Regions from separate parts of the Homo sapiens genome. Here regions 2, 3 and 4 are each linked to region 1. The links are contacts of gene promoters, found by promoter capture Hi-C in human tissues and cell types (Jung and others, 2019). All regions are on one chromosome and are shown on one strand. Each heading gives the region's core, a stretch centred on a gene start or on the middle of the fragment in contact. The rest is flanking DNA. Distances are from core to core; before and after follow the strand shown. Region 1 holds the start of KCNJ6 (potassium inwardly rectifying channel subfamily J member 6). Region 2 has its middle 45 kb from the start of KCNJ6. Region 3 overlaps KCNJ6 (potassium inwardly rectifying channel subfamily J member 6). Region 4 has its middle 64 kb from the start of KCNJ6.

What was found. Contacts are between HindIII fragments. The study calls those that stand out against the background at their distance.
Region 2: a contact is called between a fragment that was not itself captured here and the fragment with the promoter of KCNJ6 in region 1, in 1 of the 25 tissues and cell types used here (thymus).
Region 3: a fragment that was not itself captured here is called in contact with the fragment with the promoter of KCNJ6 in region 1 in 6 of the 25 tissues and cell types used here (IMR-90 fibroblasts, aorta, dorsolateral prefrontal cortex and 3 more).
Region 4: a contact is called between a fragment that was not itself captured here and the fragment with the promoter of KCNJ6 in region 1, in 6 of the 25 tissues and cell types used here (H1 embryonic stem cells, aorta, dorsolateral prefrontal cortex and 3 more).

What each region holds. Positions count from the first base shown.
Region 1 is chr21:37,912,431-37,918,593 of GRCh38, reverse strand. KCNJ6 (potassium inwardly rectifying channel subfamily J member 6) reads left to right here and starts at 2,137. Exons shown (of 4, transcript NM_002240.5): 1 at 2,137-2,710. The HindIII fragment of the contact is 8,322 bases long and covers 1-3,919 here.
Region 2 is chr21:37,958,377-37,965,052 of GRCh38, reverse strand. No RefSeq gene overlaps it. Among named protein-coding and RNA genes, the nearest start is that of KCNJ6, 45 kb to the right of the region's middle. The HindIII fragment of the contact is 5,417 bases long and covers 934-6,350 here.
Region 3 is chr21:37,861,458-37,867,790 of GRCh38, reverse strand. All of the region lies in intron 1 of KCNJ6 (potassium inwardly rectifying channel subfamily J member 6), which reads left to right. Among named protein-coding and RNA genes, the nearest start is that of KCNJ6, 52 kb to the left of the region's middle. The HindIII fragment of the contact is 4,187 bases long and covers 1,028-5,214 here.
Region 4 is chr21:37,977,928-37,983,922 of GRCh38, reverse strand. No RefSeq gene overlaps it. Among named protein-coding and RNA genes, the nearest start is that of KCNJ6, 64 kb to the right of the region's middle. The HindIII fragment of the contact is 4,184 bases long and covers 1,903-5,995 here.

The DNA of each region.
Region 1 (6,163 bases), core at 888-3,387:
CTGATTTACCCTGAAAGATCTTCTCCCCCAGGCCTTGCCTTCACCTGAAATCATAAAATAGATATATAAGTGAGATTTCAGACAAGCTAAACACAATGTAGTTTGAGAGACCAGGCTCTCAGGAGCTCAGAGGAGCCACAATTTGCAGCTCTGAAGCACAGCTCGCCTGATTTTCAGATGTGGCTGCAGTCTCTTAGTTACACCCATGCAGATCACTTTATCAGAACTCTACGGAATAAATGAATGAATTCAGTTAAGCCAATTGCTCTTGTCTCTGGTGTTTATCAAATCCCAGGCTGTGTTAATGGGATCCATCTCATTCAACACGTGCTCTTATGCCATTCACAAAGTGCTATTGCCCACATCACCCCGGCAGCTGTTTCAAGTAGGGGAGTTTTCAAAGTATTTGAAGGAGACAAATAGGTTACTTCCAACTCTTGACTTTCTTATTTAGTCTAATATCTTGTAAGAAAGATACTTTGTGAAATCATTCTACTGGTAAAAGTATATATCATCAAAATTAGCAGGCATACCCATAGCAGCTTCACAGATTAAACAGAATGCCCTTTACACAACTATAGTCAACATGGGTTGTTCTTTTAATGTTCTAAGGCTGTGTCCACCGAAATCCTGCATCTTGCATTTGTATTCCTGGTCTCTCAGGGATTATTTGGTTCAGTTGTTCTTTGTTTATTTGTAACACTATCACTAGATCCAGCAGGCATTGTGGAGCACGTATTACACATACTACAGATATTACACATACTCATATCTTCTGTATATGGGATATATGACTCAGAAGTAATAGCAAGTCAGATTACAACCTCTTAGGGAAAATCAACAGCAAATACAAGCTCACAGGCCGTGTGTACGGTTGACTTTTACATGACTTTGGATGCAAATTGACACAAACACCTCTCCATATTACAGTCATTTTTAGAGGGCAGACAGCATTCTTGAGGGGACCTGAATTGCTAGGTAATTAAAATGTATGTATGTAGAATAAAATAATCTTGGAAATAAGAGGTTTCCGTAAGCCTTCTCTCTAAAATAAGGTCACCTTCTTTGAGGTAGAGATTCTGTGCCTTGTGGAAGGAAAGCCACTTCATAAAGCAGCACAAGAATAGCCAGTTATTGAAAGGGCCATTATAAAATTACTAGCCAATGGTATTCGCTACTCTTACAATTTGTCAATCCATTCATCCCTAGGAAAAAGACAGCATAAAAGAGAGTTCTGTTCATAGGTAGAAGCAATTTATGGGAAGACTTTGGAAATGTAGAACCATTGTTTTTGATGACCATAAGAAAAAGAGGGGGTGCAAGAGGGGAGCACTATGAGGGGCCCCTGGAATAACAGCACAAAGCAAGTTAGATTCAAAGAGTGGAGTAGACCTTTGTCTAAGGGGCTTATCCTGACAAATTCAACTTTGAAGGCAGCCTGGGTCATTCTTGGAAAAGGCCATTCTTTGTCTCCAGTGACCCCAGAGACATCATATAAGGATGGGGTGATGATGCAGCAGCCGGGACCAGGTCCCAGTTGCAGTGGACAGGACAGAAGGGACTGAATGGGGCAGCAGGCTGGGGCGCCACCAGGTGCAAGCAAAGCTCAGGGATAGGGCCCCTCCCCTCCGTCCCGGCCGCTCGCTGCGCCCCCTCTGGGCGGTGCAGGCTCCGGCTCCCGCGCCGGGGCTGCCTCTCACGGATTTCAGCCCGGTGGGAGGCAGTGCCCAGAGCCTCTTTTTCCTTATCTCACAAAACCCTAAAAGCCGAACCCCTACAACCAGCAGACAAAACTGCTCCCCGAGCTTCGGCTCTTTCCTGCTTTCCAGGCGTTTCTCCGGGAATAACTTACTTAGTGGCACTGGGAGAAAGGTTGGGACTGGGGGGTCGGGGACCGAAACCCAAAAGATTCCCCCAGCATGGAGCACCCACGTTTCCAGTGGCGGGGGATGCACGTTGGTTTGTGCCCAGCCCGCCCCCACCAAGCCCGGTCCTCGACGCGCTGACACGCTAGCTGGCATGGGCGGCGGGGTGGGCGTCTCTGGGTCTGTGGCTCTGTCCTGCTCGCCCCCGCCCCTTCCTCCCGGACCGCGCCGGCGCTGTGCGGCTTTTTCCCCAGCACGCGGCGCTGCACTCGCTTTTATCTCGGAGCCGCGTCGCTTCGTGCGCTGCCAGCGGGGCTCAGCCAGTCGGCTGGAATTGAGTAGCATTCATTGAATCTGCGGATTTCATGACGTCTCTCTGCGTGGTCCACCACTTTTCTCCTAACCGGGGATTTTTTTTTTCTTCTGCCACTCTTATCTTTCCCCACTTCATTCCACCCAGTCTCCCTCCCCCGTCCCTGCCCAAACGCGCGCCCCTCCGCCCCTCCCTTGGCCCCAGCGCCCAGCCCTGCTCTCCGCGCTCGGCCAGAGGGAGCCAGTCCGGAGACGGCCGCACCTGGCTGGAGAGGCTGGGCGGGCGGAGGGGTGGAGACCCGCGGACGCCGGGAAGCCGGACCTGGAGCCGGAGCAGCCGCGAGCAGAATGGAGTCTCCTAACAGCCTCTCGGTGCTGATGTGAAATTTGACCATCTGATTCCAGTTTTTTTCTTTTCCTTTTCTTTTTTGCATTTCCTTCCCTCGCCATCCGTCGTGTAGTGAATTGTTCAGTCTTGCTCCGTTTCAAGAGAGGAGATCATGATTGAGTGAAGCCACCCCGTCCGCAGCCAGGTAAGCGGTGCGCTGAGCTGCTCGCAGGCGAGGAGCTGGCGTCCACCTGGGCGAGGCGTTCCGTGCTCTCGGGTCCCCGCGTCCCCTTCCCCAGCTCCGCCGTCGCCGCAGGCATCTCCACTCTCATGAGAAACATTGTGCCCAAGTCAGCCGAAAGGCGAGGGAGAAGCCGGTTACATAACAGAAGGGGAATCTGTTTCATACGGTTTTCATTAGCGACTGAAACTCGCACGGGGGGCGGGGGAAGGAGGGGTCTGCATCCCTGGGCTCGCAGAAACCCAGTCAGTTATTGCAGACATCATTTCAACATCCGCTGGCAAAGACTTAAATGCACTGATTAACTGACAGGTGCGGCTTGTGATGTAGTCATTTACAGTTGGGAAAAGCCTATTGTCTTTGTGGAAGGCAGTCTTCTTGTTCTGCTTTGCATGGAGAGGAGAGGAGACAACACGAAAGGGAGGAAAAGTGAGGGTTGGGGAGAAACATGCGGAGAATGGGAAACAGAATACTGTAACTCCTAACTGTTCTCTATCCTTAAAACCGAAGATGTGCTAGCATGACTAAAAACAGTGAATAGGAAGATCTTCCTAGGAGTAAACTGAATTATTTTGTAATTGGAAGGGAAGAAAAAACACTTTAGATAAAATGAGATGTGTGTGGCATTTAGAGGACTGGGTGGCTGTGGATATTTGCTTCCCTGTGGATATATTTTCATTTTCATCAAAACATTAAGCTTGGATTAGTTTTTAAGTGAAATAACATCAGTATTCCCAAAACCCAATAAAAGCCCAGTGGATCCACAGGTACATCTGTTGTACTAGGTGCAATATGGAGAGATTGTCAGGGGGAAAATATATCTTAATAGAAACAGCCACAGAGGGTGAGGTTAGTGGAGAAACAAAATACCAGAATTTTCCAAAGAATTCCGCCTCCAACCCCCAAAAAAAGGAAGAGAAAAAAAAAAAAACCCCACAACTCCAGTGTTTGGGAGTTGGAGATGTATTATATGTTTAGAGTGTTTCCCAACTGCTGTTATCCAAAGTCTGTCGGTCCCGGGGAGCCCTACGGTACAGGGAGCAATGCCACATCCTGCTAGCCCTGTTCCCTGCCTGCCTTTCTTTTGCTGAAAAAAAGAAACGGAAAAGGGTGATGCCCAGGAACTGCTTAGGGAGAAAAAAGGGCTTGCTACAGTCAGGGCTGAGCTAACTGAGCTTCGCCCATTTTGCCTGGAGAAAGAAAAAGAGCTCGAGTCTCCATGGCGACCCAGGTGGGAGGGGAGACCGCAGCTCCAGTTATAGGGGAAAAAAATTGGACAAAACTTTCCCGGCTCCAGGCAAAGGAATACGCCAGCCGCGTGCCCTGTGGCGGGTCCCAGGGCATCGGTTGTGCCCAACTCCCTGACGGCGACGCTCGAGAGGGCGCCCAGAGCTGGCCGGGTGCCCCTGAAACCTCCCGAAAGTTGCCTGGGGGCCGCCGAGGTGGTGGTTCCTCAGCGGGTTCCGGATTCAGCACCAAGGCCAGAGCCCAGGCGCCGAGGGTGAAGCCTCACCTGTCTGCAGCCCCCAGCAAGCAGTACCCACTCCTTTGGTCGCTGGAGGTCAATCACTTTCTATAAATAAATGAGTCTTTGGCTCGTGCAGAATCTGGATATCAAATTACCCACGGAATTACGTGAGGCAAAGAAGCTTGCAAATCATCCATTTTATGCATGGCGGTGCATCAGAGGACCTATTCAGAATCAAGAACACTGGGACAGGGAAAGACCTGAGCTGAACTGAGAGTGGAGACAGGATTCTGTCCTCAGGGGGAGAAAAAGGACGCGCGCGCGCACAGACACACACACACACACACACACACACACACACACACACACACCCCGATCCGCCTCTGACGAGGGTTGCTAGTTTCAGCTGAGTCCCTTTGGCTTTCAAAAGCATGCATCCCTTGCCCTCTCACGCTCTTCTCTTTAACTTTTTGTTGGGCATAGATGGCAGAAGGGAGCTGTGGAAGCACCCTGGTCAGCGAGAGGCCAGCCAACCAAGTTTGTTATTTCTTTCTTTCTTTTTTAGACGGAGTCTCGCTGTGTCACCCAGGCTAGAGTGCAGTGGCTCGATCTCGGCTCACTGCAACCTCTGCGTCCCGGTTTCAAGCGATTCTCCTACCTCAGCCTCCTGAGTAGCTGGGATTACAGGCGCACACCACAACACCTGGCTAATTTTTGTATTTTTAGTAGAGACGGGGTTTCACCATGTTGGTCAGGCTGGTCTCGAACTCATGACGTTGTGATCCGCCTGCCTCAGCCTCCCAGAGTGCTGGGATTACAGGCGTGAGCCACCGTATCCGGCCCAGCCAAATTCTTTCTAAGGGTCCTAGGACTGAAGAGGGTGGAGATATAGTTTCCTCTCGGTCTAGAACTGGAAGGAATCAAAACAACACTGGTGAGCTTCCGAAAAGGAGAGAGAGTTTGTTAGCAAGATGAGAGCCAGTGATCACATCTTCAAGCCTGCGTGTGAGCAAGGTGGCTACATTTCCTAGGTTGCAGTCGTAGGAAACCGAGAGGAGTCACTTCTCTTAATACAAACAAGGAAGAAACTGCAGGAGGGGAGGATTTATTACCATTCAAGTTCCATTTCAACATTCATACAGGGAAAACAGGTAAGTCCATCAAGCCCTTCTGCTCTCACTTTACGAGAAGCTGGTCTTTGCCCTGCTCTCATCCTTGGTAGTAGGTCCCCCACCACCACAACTGTCACTGATATGAAGAGGAAAAATAATACAGGAAGGTGACAGTCATATTTGAAATAGAATGCCTGTCAGAGTGCCATCCAGGTGTTACAAGGTATACTTTGAATTGCAGAGCCCAGTCAAGGTTTGGCAACTGGTTGGAAATGTTGATAAAGCTTCAACAATATCCCTGGCTGCTTTCCTGTTTTGTGGATGCACTTGTGCATGAGGTCTTGAGCTGGTTCTGGTTTGTTATTTTTAATGGTAAACAAGATATGATCCTGGTTTTCCTTGCTGGGCTTTCCAAGTGTGACATGTTGTTTCTAAAGATATTGCATGCTGAGCACTCAGGATGTGGTTAAAGCAGTGTGTTTCTACCTTCCAGTCTTTTCAAATGATTGCTAGTGAAGACAGAGCAATCTATTTCAAACCTAAGCAAAAGGATGAGTTATTACACTATTTCTTACATTTCAGTTCCTGATAGGTATTGACAAGTTTATCCATAATTTAGTTTATGAAAAGGTTGCTACCTAAAGTAGACAGAAGAAGTGACACGTGGAGTATTAAACAACGCAGCTGTTCCTTGGCCTTGTTCCATCTGACATTATCAGCAGAAGGGAAGTAGACGTTCATTATGAGGATGAAGCTATACGAGAATATAGACTGTTAGATAAACAAAGTAATGTATTTCTGAGTTCTAAAGTTCAATTTCTCTAATAAATTAAAAAG
Region 2 (6,676 bases), core at 2,393-4,892, 45 kb before region 1:
CCATGCTGATCTTGACCTGGCACTGCTCCATGGGGGAAATGGAACACGGGGAGGGGGGTGGTTGGCACTTCTTTTTCTGCCTCTTGCTCACACTGTCATAGTAAGCAGATAGAGGCTTGATTGCTACTATCAGTTTAGCTCATTGTCCTCTTGACCACCTGGATGCCTAGTAGCTCAGCAAATACTTTGGATAGGAAGTCTTCTGGTGTTCAGTACTCATTCTGACCCTGGCACTGGCGCTTGACTCTGGGGAGACAATAATTCCAGCAATATAGGATCTCTTCCTTAGTAATCATAATTGGGCATTTTTATTTCGTGTGATCAACTGTAAGTACTCAAATTTGGTGGGGCAGTGATCTCTCACTTGATTATCACGATCTTCCAAGGAGCTCGATTTCAAGAACAGCCAGATTTTACCAATACTTCCTCATGCCACCCCAGTGGAGTCTGCATAGTCCAAATCACAGCACCCAAAGAGAAACGGATATCCTCATGTTTCCTTTGTCCCCCTAAACCACATGTGAGCATCTCTGGGCCTAGCTTATCCCCATAGCTACACCATTTTCATCTGGGGCTTTTTTTTTTTTTTATGGAGTCTCACTCTGTCACTCAGGCTGGAGTGCAATGGCATGATCTTGGCTCACGGCAACCTCCACCTCCCAGGTTCAAGCGATTCTCTTGCCTCAGCCTCCTGAGTAGCTGGGAATACAGACACGTGCCACCATGCCAGGCTAATCTTTGTATTTTTAGTAGAGGTGGGGTTTCACCATGTTGGCCAGGCTGGTCTCAAACTTCTGACCTCAGGTGATCCCCCTGCCTCGGCCTCCCAAAGTGCTGGGATTACAGGCATGAGCCACTGTGCCCAGCCTCATCTGGGGGTTTAATCAGAGCCTGAGGTCTCTAAGCTTCCGGTCATCATTCACTCATCACTACTTAGCATCTTTCCTCAATTTTTAAAAGCTTTTTACTTCACAGTAATTTTGAACTTACAAAAAAAGTTGCAAAAATAATACAAACTATTCCCATGTAGGTTTTACTCAGATTTATCAATATTTAATATTTGCCCACATTTATTTTTCATATTCTCTCTCCTTCAAAGTCTATTGGTAAATGACTGTGTATACACACACATGCACACACACATAATTTGTTTTCTCTGAAAGTTTTGAGAGTAAATTTCATACATCATGCCTCTTTACCTTTTAATACTTCAAGCCATATTTCCTAAGAACAAGGATATTCTCTTTAAAAAGAAAACCTAGGTTTTCTTCTAGGATTTTTATCGTTTTGGGTCTTACATTTAAGTCTTTAATCCATCTTCAGTTAATTTTTGTATAAGGCGTAAGGAAGGGGTCCAGTTTCAGTTTTCTGCATATGGCTAGCCGGTCTTCCCAACACCATTTATTAAATAGGGAATCCTTTCCCCATTGCTTGTTTGTGAACCATCATTCTCAGCAAACTAACACAAGAACAGAAAACCAAACACCGCATGTTCTCACTCATAAGTGGGAGTCGAACAATGAAAACACAGGGACACAGGGAGGGGAACATCACACACCGGGGTCTGTCGGGGGGTGGGGGCCTAGCGGAGGGATAGCATTAGGAGAAATACCTAATGTAGGTGATAGGTTGATGGGTGCAGCAAACCACCATGGCAAGTGTATACCTATACAAAACTGCAAGTTCTGCACATGTACCCCAGAACTTAAAGTATAATAAAAAAAAGGAAATCTAAAAAATAAATAAATAAAATAAAGCAAAAATAAAAAAAGAAAACCATAGGTAACAATTCAAGAAATTTAACATTGATCAAATCTTTTGTCTAAACACAGACTGTATTCCAATTTGCCAATAGTCAAAAAATGCTCTGTGTAGAAATCTTCCCTCCAGTTTAAGATCCAGTTTAAGATCATGAATAGCATGTATTTATTGTGTTCCCAGGCTTTTTAATCTGGACTATTTCCTCAGCCTCTCCGTAGTATGACATTGACATTTTCGAAGACTATAGGCCATTCATTTTCTAAAGAATTGCTCAAAGTGGTCTCTGATGTTTCCTTGTGCTTGGATTCAGGTACCACCTCCCTGAATGGAAATCTACATGGAGAAGATTTGTCCTTCTCAGGGCATCACATCAGAGGCCACAGTGTCCACGGCAGTTCAATGAGGATGCTCATTTTGGTCTCTGGGGCAAAGAATTGTATAGAACCTCTGCTGTACACTGACAATTTTTACTCTTGCTTTTACTTAGTGGTCAATAGGGAGACTTTTTTTTTTTTTTTTTTTTTTTTGAGATGGAGTCTCGCTCTGTCACCCAGGCTGGAGTGCAGTGGCACGATCTCAGCTCACTGCAACCTCCACCTCCCGGGTTCAAGCAATTCTCCTGCCTCAGCCTCCCGAGTAGCTGGGATTAGCGCCACCATGCCCGGCTAATTTTTGTATTTTTTTAGTAGAGGCGAGATTTCACCATGTTGATCAGGCTGGTCTTGAACCCCTGACCTCGTGATCCGCCCACCTCGGCCTCCCAAAGTGCTGGGATTACAGGCGTCTGCCACTGTGCCTGGCCGGGAGACATTTTTAGACTATGCAAGTGTTCTTCCATAGATTTGGCATCCATTGATGATCTTTGTTCAAATAGTCTTCACTATGATGATCAAAATGCAAAACAGTTTTAAGGTTTTTTTAAACAATAACCTTTAATCAACAGTCTAAAGTAGAATACTTAAATTTCTTTAACAACTAAAGAAACACATGGAATTATCCACACTTCTTGATTTCTTGACTCCCATAGAAGAACCTCCTTCTTCTATGGAAGGAGGGCCCCAAGCCTCATCTATTCACGGGGAGGGAGTCCCCTGGGAGGTGTGAGTTTCTCCAGGGGGACAGTCATGGGACTATGCTCCCAGCTTTTAGAAAGTCTCCACCTTAAGTGAGCAGACGTTGCTTAACAAAGGTGCCTCTGAGCTCTCAGGTCCAAAGGCAAGACCATGTTTTCTTAATTTTCAGATCCAGTGATGTCAGTTATCTCATTTTTTATTGATAGCATCATAGTTACACATATTTTGGGGCTACATGCCATAGTTTGTTACACATATACAATGTGTATGGACCAAATCAGGGTAATTGAGACAGCCATCGCCTGAAACATTTATCATTTCTTTGTGTTGGGAACATTTCAATTCTTCTCTTCACCTATCTTGAAATACGTAATAAATTACTGTTAACTATAATTTCCCTACTTTTCTATCAAATACTAGAACTTATTCCTTCTATCTAGCTATATTTTTGGACCCATTCACCAACTTCTTCATCCTCCCACACCCCTCTTTCCTCAGGTGGTACCTTTTTTATTTTTAAGAGGCATTTGTGGATGAGTATTAGCTTAAGTGTCCCTTATATAGAGATGACCAATTGTCTCTAATTTCCCCAGATCATTTCAGTGTATGACACTTGCACTGGTGTAATTAATGATAGCATACTCTTTCACTTTCAAAAGTCATCTCCATAGAAGATAAATTCTATCATCACCTCTACTTATGGACCTATTTTTTCAAATAAATATCTAAGTACTTATTCCAGGTCTACAGCATCTTTTACTGAAATGGAAATTACTTTTTTCCTGATTCTAAGAAGAATCCATAATCTTTGTGAAAAAGACCAGAAAATCTAGGGGAATAAGTAAAAAAAAAAAGAAAGAAAAAAAAGAAACTTACACTTAATCCCATGTATTAGCTTGTTCCACTTGTGAGGTTGCTTTAGTTTATCAATATTTTCACATCCACTTTCACATTTGATTTTCATAACTACACTGTAACACAGCTGAGCTGTGATGATTATATTTTCCTGTTTTACAGTTGAAGACATTGAGCCGAAGGATCCTGAAGCCCAAATATTCTGCCTTGAAATCTTGTCTCTCCACTATATCACATTGCCCAAGAGATGCATGTAAAGGGAAACACACCGTAATGATAGTAGCAGCAATAACAGCTGAAATTATTGAGTTCTTACTAGGTGCATGCCCTTAAAGCTCTAATCAGTCTTAGGAGGTTGGCACTAATGGAGAAAGTGATGTTTAGTGAGGATAAGCAATTGCCTAATATCTCTCTCACAGCTCATAAGTGATGTATTTGTGCTTGTCAAGTTCACACCTGCCCAGCTTCTATGCCTGAGCTCATGGCCACTATGATCTACCCACTTGACATTTGCTAAAATATATTCAATTGAGGTATAGTTCACATACAATAAAATACACCCATTTTAAATGTATGGTTCCATAAATTGTGGGACATGTATATACAATGCAACCATCACCAATGCTATGGTTTGAATATTTGTGTTCTCTCCAAATGTATATGTTGAAATCCTAACCCCCAAGGTGATGATATTAGGAGGTGGGAGGTGATTAGGTCATGAGTGGGGAGCCCTCCTGAGTGGGATTAGTGCCCTTATAAAAAGAGACTCCAGGGAGCTCCCTTGTCCCTCCCACCAGGTGAGATCATAGTGAATAGGTGCAGTCTATGAACCTGGAATGAGGCCCTCACCAGACACTGACTCTGACAGCATCTTGATCTTGGGAGTCCCAGTCTCCAGAGCTGTGGGAGGTAAGTTTCTGTTGTGTACAAACCACTCGATATATAGCATTCTGTTACAGCCACCTGATGGACTAAGACAACCACAATCAAGATTTTGAACATTCCTGCCACCCCCAGTAGTTTCCCTGTGCCCTTCTGCAGTCAGTCCCTACTCCTTGGATGGCCTCAGGCAACCACCGTCTGTTTTCTTTCACTATAGCCTAGTTTCGTCTTTTTTTTTTTTTTTTTTTTTTTTGTATTTCGTATACATGGAATCATATGGTAATGTACTTTGTAATGTGACAAGGTTGAATTTTAGCTGAGTCTGGGCTCCTGAAAAAACAGCAAAGTTTCAAAGAATTCCCCCCACCCTTTCATGCTCTGGGAAACACCGTTCCCCACAGGACTTAGCTACAGTTCATGATGTTCTCTGTTACTTAGGACAAGGCCAGACCCAGACCCTCCAACTTCCCATTCTTTGCCTCATAAATGATTGGCTGATCTCCTTGTTGCCACTGATCAAATGGAACAAAATACTTGTTAGACAAAGATTAAGATTTGGTTATCCTCAGCCAAAGCCTGCAGACAACCCCTCCAGAGAATAAACTAGCTTCAGGTAAAACATTTTCACCCCCACTTTCCCTCACTCAGTTCTTCCTAGCCTTGTTCACTCCTCTCTATAATAGAAAAATGCTGCTTGCCTTAACCTTTGAGATAAGTGTCCACATTATAGATAGAATGTTTTCTCTATGGCAATACCCTTCCCACCCCCACTGCAATAATCCTTTTATATAAAGTCTCTCCAGTGAGTCCAGATTTGTTTTTATTTGATGTGTCTGGCCTCACTTGCTCAGCATGATGGTTTTTTGTTTTGTTTTGTTTTTGAGACAGAGTTTTGCTCTTGTTGCCCAGGCTGGGCTGCAATGGTGCAATCTCAGCTCAGTGCAACCTCCGCCTCCTGGCTTCAAGCAATCCTCCTTCCTCAGCCTCCCGAGTGGCTGAGATTACAGGCATGTGCCACCACGCCCAGCTAATTTTGTATTTTTAGTAGAGACAGGGTTTCGCCATGTTGGTCAGGCTGATCTCGAACTCCTGACCTCAGGTGATCCACCCGACTCACTCTCCCAAAGTGCGGGGATTACACATGTGAGCCACCACACCCGGCCGTAGTGTAACATTTTAAAGAGTCATCGATCATGTTTTCCATTGTATCAACAGTTTGTTTCTTTTTGTTGCTGAGTAATAGTCCAACATATACAATTTGTTTATCCATTCTACAATTGATGTCTGTTTGAGTTGATTTTATTTTTTTAAGAGAGGCAGGGATTGACAATTACACAATTCTCGAAGAAGTCTTTTTGTGGACAGGTGCTTCATTGCTCTGGGTAAATATCTAGGAGTGAAATTGCTGGGTAACCCACATTACATCTTTAAGTAGAATGTCATAGTATCCTCTCCTATGATACTCCCTATGTGGCAGGCATAGGAGAGCAATTTCTGATTAAAAGGCTTCCAGAAGTGAGAAGCTTCAGGGTTTCTTCACTTGTGTTTTACTCACACATGGGCACGTATGACAATTCTTAGAAAACATACGCTTTAAATCAAATTCCCCTATCACCAAATAGCTTGGCATTCAGTGCAGTTCCATAGATGAGGCTGGAACATGTGCACATGAGTTTCTAGCAATACATATGCCCCATCTGCTGAGGGATTGCTTTAATTTGCCCATTTTTAATGCTTCATTCACAGTGTTATAAATATTATGCCCTTTTTTTTTCCGGGCATCTGTTGCTCCCCCCTCTAGTTCTCTCCCCAGTAGAGCCTGGTTTATTGTATTCATAAATAAGAAATGGCAAACATTCATTCTTTTTAAGAACACAAAGGCACATTTCTTTTTATCCCATCAAATTAAGTTCAGCTACTCCACTAGCTAGGATTACATAAGACAATTCCAGTGAGGAGGAAAGAAATCAGCCTTAAAAACACAATCCCCATTTGAATAGGGAGGGAAGAGAACAGATGAGGATGAAGTGCAAGCTTCCCTTTGTGAATTTTCAACTCCACCTTCTGCTCAGATGCCCATTTCACTCTCCAGCCTGTTTTCTTTC
Region 3 (6,333 bases), core at 1,872-4,371, 52 kb after region 1:
ACCAGTCTCTTCGCTGCCTGATTGTTGTGGTAATATATTTACCGTGTAACCTTCTGTTATTTTTATCATATGGTTTTTCACCATCTGCTGTGTGGTTCTACAGCTGACATCACTCTTTGCAAGGTAAGGTCTGGTCTGCTACACAATCTATTATTGTCGCTTTTATTACCGTTTGGCCCATTTCAATTGTTGTTTTTGGAAGCAGGTAGGATATAAAGTACAAATACGTAAACAAATGTTTATATAAAGATGAGGCAGAGATGGATTTCACTCTTCTTCAAAAAACTATAAAAGCATCTCTTGATATTACTCTCAAAAGGCAAGATAAAGGATCTGTATTTTGCCCTAACTTTTAAAAATAAAAATAAAACAGTTTGCTTTCATTCATATTGTCCCTGCTGCAAGCTTGGCTGCATGGGGCTTTCTGGGGGCCAGTGACCCCTCAGCTCTCCTCACTGGACAGATTTTTGTCCCTGACTCTGAGTGCGATGCTGCCTCTGATGTTGCTCCCTGTAGTACCCTAGACACCTCAGGTGTTATTAAAGGATGATTTTTAAATAGCGTAAAATCATGACTCTCAGGCAAATATAAAACTAACATATGGAAAATATTTTATTACACTTATTAATTAATAAGGAAATCATATAAATGTTACAAAAGATTCAAAGAAGAAGTCAAAGAATGGCACATTTCTATGGAGTTAAGGAATGTCAAGATGGCTTTTTCTATGAGAAGGGATATTATTTGAGCATCCACCTAACAGAATTTATTTGCCAGTCTATACACAATAATCATGTTTGCGTTGCCAATTATAACTGCACTGCCATCAGTTCTCTACAATTTAGAGATTGTAAAAATAGCTGAATGGCAATGAATAGCTAGAATCAGAAAACCTAGAAGGATATGTTCTAAGTAATGCGTAGTTTTGTATTGAAGACATCCAGTAATCTTCATTGCTTATTCATCATTCCCATCCTCCTTTCTCTTTCCAACAGCCGTTGGCCATCTCTAGTTCATCCTGTGGCCCCCAGATCTCAAGAGACATGGTCCTCTTGACCATGGCCTGGTGGCAGGTGAATCTGGCTGAAGTGCTGTTTCGTGGGAATTGCCAATGGACCCTTTTGACATTCTCTGTACTTAGTTTCTGATCCCACACTTTTCTTGCTCATTCTCCCCAGTTGCCAGTAGGCAGGGACCAATGTCCAGCTGGTCATTCCATTTGAATGCAACCCTGGCCTCACTGTCCAGCTCCGGCCAGGTCTGTTCCTTTAGCAAAAGCTGCACAAAAGTATGTGAAAGGTCGGGCTCCTGGTTCAGTGAAGAACCAGCAGCCTGTGCCCACCCAAGGACCAATTTCCTCCTTCCATCCATCTATAGAAACCCAAAGGTATTCTCCCAACTCATCAGATCCACTTGTTAATTGTGATGTCTCTCCTGGTATACCAGTCAGGGTTCAATAGAGAAGCAGAATGAGGAAGTGATATACAGTAAGAGGCTTATTACAAGACATTGTGTTATGTAATTGTGAGGGCTGACTAAGCAAGTCTTAAAGCCTGAAGGGCAGGCCACCAAGAACAGCAGGCAGGAGCTCTCAGGCAGGAACTGAATCCACCATCCACAGACAGAATGTCTTCTTTTCTCAGGGAAGCTTCAAGCCAGCGTTTAAAGAACTTTGCCTAATTGAGTCAGGCCCACTCAGATTATCTGCGATAACCTCCCCTTAATTTAAAGTCAACCAATTATGATCACATCCACAAAATATCTTCACAGCAACACCTAAGTTAGTAGTCTAAGAAGTTTCCTGATATGATTTTTTTTAATTTGTTGAAATTTGGTTTGTGGTCTAACACACGATCTACACTGCTGAGAGTTTCATGTGCTGATGAGCACATAAATGTGTGTTCTGCAACGGTTGAGTGAGATGTTCTGTAAATGTCTGTTAGGACCATTTGGTCTTGAGTGCAGTTTAAATCCAACACTTCTTTGTTGATCTTCTATCTAGATGATCTGTCCAAGACTGAGAGTGGGGTGTTGAAGTCCCCAGTCACCAAATTATAAACCACCCCATAAAAACCAGACAGTGGGAAAGTGCCTGAGTTATCATTTATGAAAGCATCAGCAAGAGCACGTAGTGCCTCAGCCCTTAACAGGGGTATGACATGGACAAGTTCTTTCTAAGCTGGCTCCTCCATTCATAAAATGATTAATTAGATAAGCTATAAGGAGCTCAAAAAATTGCTTGTTCTACCACTGGCTTCTCAAAGAGGAGCTGGATCCGTATTGTACAGAATGAGACAGTTCAAGCTCAGAAGAGTCAGGCCCCTGCCTCCCCCTCCAGCCAGTGTCTTTCCTTTCCTCTCCTGCCCATGCAGACAGCTGAGAACTGGGGGTGGACATGATGGGACACGACTGGCAAAAAAACAGTATATACGGTTATCTGAAAATATTTGCATAAGGCCTCCTCCACTTTTTTTCTGTATAATGGTAACTTCTGTTTTTCGTATCAAGTGAAGTAGAGTATTTCTTGGTGATTTCAGCATCACGTTAAAAATACAGCTCTTTCCACCAGACACACACTTTACATTATTCCCAGCATATCTGAATCACCTATCAATAGGGCCTCCAGCTTTTCTAACACTCCTACACGGAGTTTCTGTACACAAATTATGTTTGGGGTCAGGATTAGGGCTCAATCCTGGAGGTACTTGGGATCTAGCTCTAAATAGTGAAGATAAGGAAACCAGCTTCTCTTGAAGCCTCATGGGCATAGAGAACATCTTTTTCTGGGCCAGGCACAGTGACTCATGCCTGTAATCCCAGCACTTTGGGAGTCCAAGGCAAGAGGATCACTTGAGCCCCAAATTTCAAGACCAGCCTGGGCAATACAACAAGACCCAGTCTCAAAAAAAAAAAAAAAAAGAGAGAGAGACAGATGGGGAGAATGGGGACTGATGTACCCACAGAAGTGCTAGAGACCCCTAAAGCATGCCTTGGTGTTTTCACTTCAGTAAAAGTAAAACAAAGTGTCCTCTACTCATTTTTAGAGGAGACTTTGGAAAGGCATAAGTTTGCTAGGAGCAAGTGCCTTTGAAGAGACAGCTCCTGTAACAGTCCAATAAGACAATGCAAACACGTGGCCCTACCAGAAGGGCCTGAGTCCCTCCACCTCTGAAACCCCTGCACATCTTCAAAGCTTTGTATTTGAAGCTACCTAATCATGCACAGAGCTTACAAGTCTGGGTAACTTGTTGTCTAGTTCTCTCTAGGTTTCATCTCTCACCTGACTTGTTTTTGCGGTGTATTAAACAATGGCATACAGATATTTAATCTGAATGCCAATGTTTTAAAAAAGAAACACTATTAAAGAACTGGATATTCCTGGCCGGCCATGGTGGCTCACACCTGTAATCCTAGCTCTTTGGGAGGCTGAGGCAGGTGGCTCACCTGAGGTCAGGAATTCAAGACCACCCTGGCCAACACGTGAAACCTCCTCTCTCCTAAAAATACAAAAATTAACCAGGCATGGTGGTGCACACTTGTTGTCCCAGCTACTTGGGAGGCTGAGGTGGGAGGATCACTTGAATGTAGGAGGCAGAGATTGCAGTCAGCCAAGATCACACCATTGCACTCTAGACTGGGTGACAGGGTGAGAATCTACCTAAAACAAAAAAAAAAAATAGAGAATTGGAGAATTGCATATTCCTTTCCTGTGTCTCTGTCAAGCGTCAGCTGTTGGATGACGTAGACTGAAACCGGCCTCAAGCCCCACAACCCGGCTTGTGATGCCGGATGACTCATTGGCCTGAAAAGCTGATATTTTCATATGGTCTTTCCTGAGGTCCCATCATTTCAAGCAGTTTAAACTCAACCTCCAAACTGCCAATATAGCAGAAGCTCACCTTCTCTCTCTTCACCAAAAAAAAAAAAAAACAAAAAAAAAAAAACCTTTATATTTTAAAATTGCTTAAAGAGACAATGTAAGCCAATAAGACTTTTAGGAGCCATGGAGCATTTTTTTTCTTACAAGAGTTACAGCAGTGCACATAAGTAGCAGCTAAATATTATTTTAGAAGTGGGGCGTTGATGTTATAAACCTATTAGCTCTTAATTCCAGCTAATTATGCATTTTGTCACATGTAGCAAAGTGCCTGTGGAAACCTATTTTAATAATATTTTAATAACCTTATTTCCTGATGCACAAAAACGATTGTAGATATCAACCACACCCTGTGCATAAAGCAAAATACATCCAAATCGTTAAAAATATAAATGTCTGGCACCAGAGGTACTTCCTGAAGAATAAACTCTCAAAAATTCAGTCATAAATGGACACAGCCCTTTCAAGTCTCTCTGTACCCACTCTAAATCAGATTTGCAATAAATCAAAGTTGGTACCTGTGCGATACCCATCAATATTAAGAAGCTGAGGGTATAGCATATGGGCAAAGAGTCAAATTCGCTTCCAGCCATTGGGGCTACTGTGTTGGTTACTGTGGAGGCACAGTAAGTAGTCAGGCGTAACAATCTCTGAATTTCAAAAACTAAGAACCTAAAATTTTATTACTCCATGTTTTACTCATTTAAGCAGACATACTAATAAATCAGGAATTACTGTGCCTAAAATATTAATGAATCAAATAACACAAAATAAGCAAAATGTTAAAGAAAAGACTATAAAACATGTTTTTCCTCTTTCCTCAGTTTTACTACATTGATCTTCACCAGTAATTCTCTGCTGTGAATGTCGAGTGTCTATGCTCTCCATGATTGTCTATGCTCTTCATGAGCACGGCTCTGCTGTTGGCTCTCTCCATTCACCTTGTCCGAATCTTCCTAGCCTTTTTAAGAGTCTCTGTCCTACCTTTTGAAAACCAGTAGCTGTGGCTACTCTCCTGTAGGTCTGACTGCTTCATCTTGGAGCCAGTCCTGCTTTTTCCTCCTGGCAACAAATGATGTCACACATCAGTCAAGATGTCTGCCCTGTCTCTCCCCTGGCTGTTGAGGGGACCGACTTAGCAGCTCAAAATTCTAAGGCATTGTACTCTTTTACAAAACTGCCAGAATGTGTTCAACTAAGTCAGCCTACCGCTAGCACAAATAGAAGAGGAAGAACCCCCAGTTTCTTCATATTTCTCTGACTATCTACACAGGGTAAACACAGTCTCTGCAGCTGCTGTTGCAAAATACAAATTTACCAGGTGGCTGCCCAGATAGAAGCAAGATCACCCAAGTTGACAGATGCTGTGTCTAGGCTTTTTCGTGATATATTAGCTTGAACTCAGATCATAATTTCCCCTGCAGTTTGAGCTACTTAACAAAGCCTTCGCCTTTTAGAATTAAAGCACAGCTAGATACTTGGTCCTCACAGACTTGAATGCCACAATGTGTATACATGCATGCATGCCTGTGTGTATAAAGGTGACATTTACAAAACAGAAAAGTTAAAATAGAAGACTTCTCTGCTTGCCAAAAAAAGCACATTGGATATTTACTATAAATAGTGACCCCCTCCAGCCCTGCCTATTTAAGGTAGACTTGGACTTAAAATTCACACACAATGTTTGGGGGATTCAACTGTTGTATAGAGTGAGGTTCACCTGATTGTAAGCAAAATACAGCCCTTTTCCACAGCTCTCATGGAAGAATTCCAACCACTGGCGATTCTGACACCTTATGTAAGATTGGAAACTGGTTCCAAGAAGGGCTGTCTTCTAAGCCTTACTTGGGGCTTGAGGAGCAGGCCAAGGAACGAGATAGACATGGGCTTGTTTGATTAGAGTGGAGGTGTGTTCTGCAGCGGGGCTTGAGCCACCCACTTGACTGAGTGCTGACCTACAGCCCCACTACTGGAAGCTCAGGGTACCCACACCCTCCTCTCCTTTCCAGTCACCAGCTTGCCCAGGGGCCCAGCATCAACACCTCAGTGAGGCTGATGGTCCCCTACTTGCCACTGGGCTATGAAGGAGTCATTTAAATTTTAGTGAACACAATCCAAGGCCCGGAGTGTTCCCCAGTTTGGTGCTTCTCAAGGACATTCCTCAAGTACCTTCTCAGCTTGGCACCCAGTAGTCACTCCATGTTTTATGGCTGTGGGGCAGAGGGACCAGCTCTGTGGGAAATGCTCTCAGGCTTCCAAGGGGTCATTACTGAGACACTGAAGTGTGCTGAAAAATGCATGTCTGCCTGCTGAGATACAGGGCTAACCATGTCGCAACCCTACTTCTCCAGATGTTAGGGGCTAAATTGCATGCCCTCAAAATTTGTATGTTGAAGTCCTAACCCCCAGTACCTCAGAATGGGACTGTATTTGGAGATAGAGCCTTTAAAGAAGTG
Region 4 (5,995 bases), core at 2,745-5,244, 63 kb before region 1:
ACACACTGAAGGAATGTCAGTAAAGTGAGTCAGTGGGAACTGAAGCTATGAGAAAAGGCTCTCTGGAAAATGGGGCACTGGGGCTGAACGTCAGGGGTGAGTTGGATTTGTGTGGGACAGGAAGAAAGGCATCCCAGGAGGTGGGAAAGTAAATGTTTGGAGTTAGAAAATGTAGCTGGTGGTTGAAAACAATGTTGAGCCCATCTTTGCTTCGAGACAAAGCAATCCTGGAACATAAGGTTGGACAGGAAGATGTCAGATCTTTGCAAGTCTTAGATGAAAGGAAGACTTCCCACTTCATCCTTTACAGTGAGGATTCCCCTGAAGGGAGCTTTGAGATTTTCATGAAACTGGTCATTTAGAGAGTTCAGTACTGCTGAGTACTTGGCAACCTACAGGGAAGAAGAATCAAAGGCAGGAATATCAAGTCAGGAAGCCAGCATACTAATTCTGTTGTGAAGTCATACAATGGCATTCCATGCGTCTGTTTCTGCATCTAGGCATATATCATTTTAGATAGAGGGGTATTGCCTGTCAAAGATTTTGTCAAATCTTTGACAGGCAATACCCCTCTATCTAAAATGATAAATAATACCAAAAGAAGATCCTGGAGTTGTCTGATATTTTGTGTAAAATATATTTCTAACTCTTTCTAAAAAAGAAATCTAGAGGAAGGTAAGGAGGAAGGAAAGAAGGAAGGAAGGAGGGAAAGAAGGAGAGGGAAGAGAAGGAAGGAAGGAGGGAAGGAAGGAAGGAAAGGAGGGAGGGGGAGGAAGGAAGGAAGGAAGGTAGGAAGGGAGGGAGGGAGGAAGTAAGGAAAAGGAAGGGCTGGGAAAGGAAGGAAGGGAGGGAGGAAGGGAGGAAGGAAGGAAAAGGAAGGGAAGGGGAAGGAAGGAAGGAAAGGAGGTGGGGAGAGAGGGAAAGGAAGGAGGGGACAAAGAGAAAAAAGCTCAAACTTTACAAGCTGATAGTTGACATTAGTCTAAAATTGTTCTAATATTAATAACATCATCTAAAATTACCTTATTTAATAGTATTTCTTCTATAATAATATTTTCATTGAATACAAGGTGCAGATCTAAACCTCACTAGAGAAAAATACACCAAGAGGCACATAAGTAAAGAAAAATAAACTTTTATTAGCCCAGTGAGGCATGAGTTTGATGTTCTTAAGAATCAGAGGCAAGCAAGCATATAAGTGTGACCTATGTTGGTAGTTTAACCCGGGAAGGAAATCCCACTTCCTTCTGATTCATAGCTCCTTCCAAGAGTAGAAGAAAGGGACATTATGTGTTTGCCCAAAGGTGTTCAGGCTGAAGAGGGGTAAGGAAATGCATTTAGCAACATAAAGGGCTTAAGAAAAATGGCTTCTAAGTGTAAATCAGAAAGAGTGATGAGAGACTTTTATTCAAAATCCACGAGCCAGGTGTACTATACCCTGCGCCAGGTTAAATGCTCACAGCCCTTGTATTCAGATGGAGGCCTCCATGTGGGACAGCACAGTACAAACACACAGGCTGTATAAACAACACACCACTGCACATGCCACAGCCCCAGGAAGGTGAGTTATGGGAGTGATTGGGGATTACGGGTCTGCTCCATTGTAGAGGACAGACATACAAGTAGAGAAAGAGAATTTTGAGGGAAATTACTATTTCAAACCATTTTCATATATTGAGAATTTCTCTTTTCCATCCAGCCCCCCTCCCAAGTGACCATCTGAATTGAGATACCCTTCCTGATGGCCAATGAGCTACATGCACAGAATCTAAATTATAAAAGGACTTCACACATGCTCTCCTAATTTGCATGATTCAAAGACAACGACCACAGACCAGACTTCCCACAAGGGGGAAACGACAAAGACGGGGTTGGGAGGGGTTTGCCTAGGTCTAAAGCTTTAAGCTTGAGTACACAATTGAAATTTTGATTCAGTACCCCAGAGGTGAGAGTTCTTTAATATTCCTAATTTATCCCACAAATAGAATTTCCTCTAGGCCCCAGCGCTCAAAGATGCCATTACTCACTGTGGTTTGAAATGGAAAATGGAAAGGGATTCTTTTCTTATTTTAGGAAGTCAAAAGGTGGGGCTGAAAAGCAAGCATCTTGTTGTTGTTTAACGAACTTGGGTCTAAATATCAGTATAGCTTAGTCTGTTCCATCAATGATTTCACCTCGACTCCTGCTTAGCCGCCAAGATGCCTTTCTTTGGCCCCTCTTGCAACCAGGTGGAATCTAAGGATAAGAGTTTCCACATTTGGCCAGGCGCGCTGGCTCACACCTGTAATCCCAGCACTTTGGGAGGCCGAGGCGGGCGGATCACGAGGTCAGGAGATTGAGACCATCCTGGCTAACATGGTGAAACCCCGTCTCTACTTAAAAAATACAAAAAATTAGCCGGGCGTGGTGGCGGGTGCCTGTAGTCCCAGCTACTCGGGAGGCTGAGGCAGGAGAATGGTGTGAACCCGGGAGGCGGAGCTTGCAGTGAGCCGAGATCGCGCCACTGCACTCCAGCCTGGGCGACAGAGCGAGACTCCGTCTCAAAAAAAAAAAAAAAAAAAAAGAGTTTCCACATTTTGGCCCTCACTTCAGCACCCATCTCCTCTGCATGGTTGAGAATCCTGCCACACACCTGGTTATTTCGCAGGGAGGGGGTCAGCAGGTCGAGGAGCTCAGGGCCCCTACTTCCCACAGCACAAGAGATAACTTTCTGCAGACAAGATACACGAGGAGTGTATGAAAGTCAAAATAAAACACCGTCTTGAAAAACAGCTGGCTCGCTGGCTCCCTGTGAAGTGATAAGAATCTGTTCATTGGTTTTAGATTCAAATCAATTACTATTCAGAGGAATCCATCAGCTCTCCACCACCGTCACCCATCCCATTTGTTCTTTTATTAATTCTAGTTATTTGTGTGTGGAACTGGGGGTGATCATTCCTCTGGGCCTGTGTTCTAACTAAGTTCCTTTAAAAAAAAATCCCGGTTTTTTTTTTTTTTTTCTAAATAGAAAAGCAATCTATGCCTGTTATATAAAATACAATAGTAAGGATAACAATTGTTCTTTTATCTTTTACCTTCTAAGTGTCGTATTGTGATATTTCACATGATTTCTTACATCACCCTCACAATTAACATAAGTAGATATTACTTATTCCTAATTTATAGATGAAACAACTGAGATTTAGGGAAGCTCAGAATTTGGCCATGACCATTCAGATGGCAGGTGTGAGAATATAATCTAGTCACTCTGGTCCAGAATGGGCACTCACTCTGTCCTGTTAGGTATAGCAAAATGTGGGAAAATCAGACATAAAAGTTCCCCCCATTGCTGCCATGCAGAGATGACTGCAATTATAGTTTGGAGACTTACCATTAATTTTCCACTCATTTGTAACTGACCAAACAATTCATGCAGACAGAACCATTTTGTAACTTGCTTTTCCCCCATTTAACAGTATGTCTCTAACGTCTTTCTACATCAGTACATGTAGATCATTCATTTTCTTCTGTGTACTCTTCTTGCAGCTTTGCTGGTAGTGTCTTCTCTTCTGCAGCCCTGGCCTGGAGGCAAGTGTGATCTCTCTGCAGCATTTGACACAGTGTTCCCTCTCTCCCTCCAGAGCAGACTTTCTTTCCCTCCATCAAAACACCAGCACTGAGTTTCACGTCATCAGAATACACCACTTTCCTGCCCTGCTGGTCATCATCCTTGACCGACTCCCATTCACTGCCGCTCATTCCTTGGAGATTTAGCTCCTAGTTTACTGACATGTTCATCAACACTACTGAGGATATCAACAATTCGAGGTTTCAATATCCATGAGATAAATCTTCCAGTATTCTGTCTTCTCCATTCCCTGACCTCCTCTCTTGCAAAGATTTTACCTTCACTTTCTCTCAACCTCTTCCTTCCTAGACCTTGTCATCCTCAATCATTTTATTTTGTTTGGTTTCAGGCATTTCACTTTCCCAGCACTACCTCACATTTCCCAACATCTTTCTTGCACTAACTCAGTTCCGACTTCTTCAGCACCAACAGGATCAACCACGCAAATTCTACTTTTTCCTATCCCTTACCATCGTTTCGTCCTTACCAACATCTTAAGCCAACTTGCAGTCTATGGTCAATCAAGATAATAACTTCATCAATTTCCCTCTCCCCTTCTAACTTAGTATTGCTAACTTGGCAAAACCAAAACACTATTAAAACCCAAGTCTACGCTCATTGCCCACCTACACTGGCAGGGCTGCATAAGAGTGGAGGAAAACTCAGTGTTGCAAACTGGCCTCATTTTAAATGATTGGATAGTAATCCTGCATCAGTGCCCATTTAGAATGCCATCTCTCTTATTCCAGAGGAACCCTTCCCAATGCCTAGCAAAGGCCAGTGCCCTACTTGCATTCCTGATCCCTTCCCTCCTCCCTAGTCAAGGACCTCCCTCTTGTACATCTGCTCACTTTCTCCTGAACCATTTATTTTTTCTCTCTGTTGCTAATCTTTCTCATCAGCAAACATACATGCTATTACCTCTCCCGTCTAAGAAACAGGCAAACAAACAAAACTCTGAACCTTCCTTCCCCTCCAGTCACCATTCTACCATTCCTTTTCCCTTTTCCCTTCCAAGTAAAACTCCTTCAAGGAGCAAACTATTCTCATTGTTGCTAATCTCTTTCCTCCTATACCTCCCCAACTTTTCTAATTGGAGCAAAATTGGCAAACAGTAAAAGGCACATATCTTAAGTATATAGTTTGGTGAATTTTGAAAGATGTATGCACCCACACAACTCCCACCATGATTAAGATCATCAAGGTGGAAAGCTTTTCCATCACTCAGAAACCTCTACTGAGTCCCCACTCCCAAGAGCAACCATTGTTCTGATTTCTATCAGCCTAAGTTAGTGTTGCCTGTTCTTTCCTGTCACATCAATTAAATTATGCTGTGTATATTCTTTGTGACTAGCTTCTTTATACGCAACGCAATGTTTTATGGATTCTCTTATGCTGTTACCTGTATCAGTGACAAACACTTTTGTGTGTATACCACAATTTTCCCTTTATTAATTAAATTTTTAGTAATTTTCCCTTCAATGATTACACGGATTATTTTCAGTGTTTGACTGGCATGAGTAACCTCCTATAAATATTCTTATGCAAGACATTTTGTGGACAAATATTTTCATTTTCATTTGTCTTGGGCTATACCTTGGAATAGAATAGATAGGTCATTAAGAAGGTGTATAGACCAGGTGCAGTGGCTCATGTCTGTAATCCCAGCACTTTGTGAGGCCACAGCAGGAGGACTGCTCGAGCCCAGGTGTTCAAGACCAGCCTGGGCAACGTGACGAAACCCAGTCTCTACAAAAAATACAAAAATTAGCCAGGCATGGCGGTGCACGTGTTTAGTCCCGGCTACTTGGGAGGCTGACATGGGAGGATCACCTGAGCCTGGGGAGGTAGAGGCTGCAGTGACCCATGACCATGCCACTGTACTCCAGCCTGAGTGACAGAGGGAAACTCTGCCTCAAAAAACAAAACAAAACAAAAACACACACAAAAAAAAAACAAAGAAGAAGAAGAAGGAGGAGGAGGTATATAGTTAACTTTGTGAAAAGCTGTCAAACAGTTTCCAAAGTGGTTGTGTCATCTTAGGCTACCATCAGCTGTGTATGAGAGTTGCAGTTGCTCTGCATCCTCACAAACATTTGATGTTATCAATCTTTTTAATTTTAGCTAATTCTAGAGGGTGTGAAATTGCATCTTGTGGTTTTAATTTGCATTTTCCTAGTGACTAATGTTGTTGAGCATCTTTTCATATTCCTATTGGCTATTCCTGTATCTTCTTTTGTGGAGTTTCTGTTAAGAATTTTGCTCCATTTTTTTATTGGATTGTGGCTTTTTCCATATTGATTTGTAGGAGTTCTTTATGTGCTCTGGGTACAAAGCCTTTGTCAAGTATATGTGTTGCTAATACTTTCTCAGAGTCTGCAGTTTGCC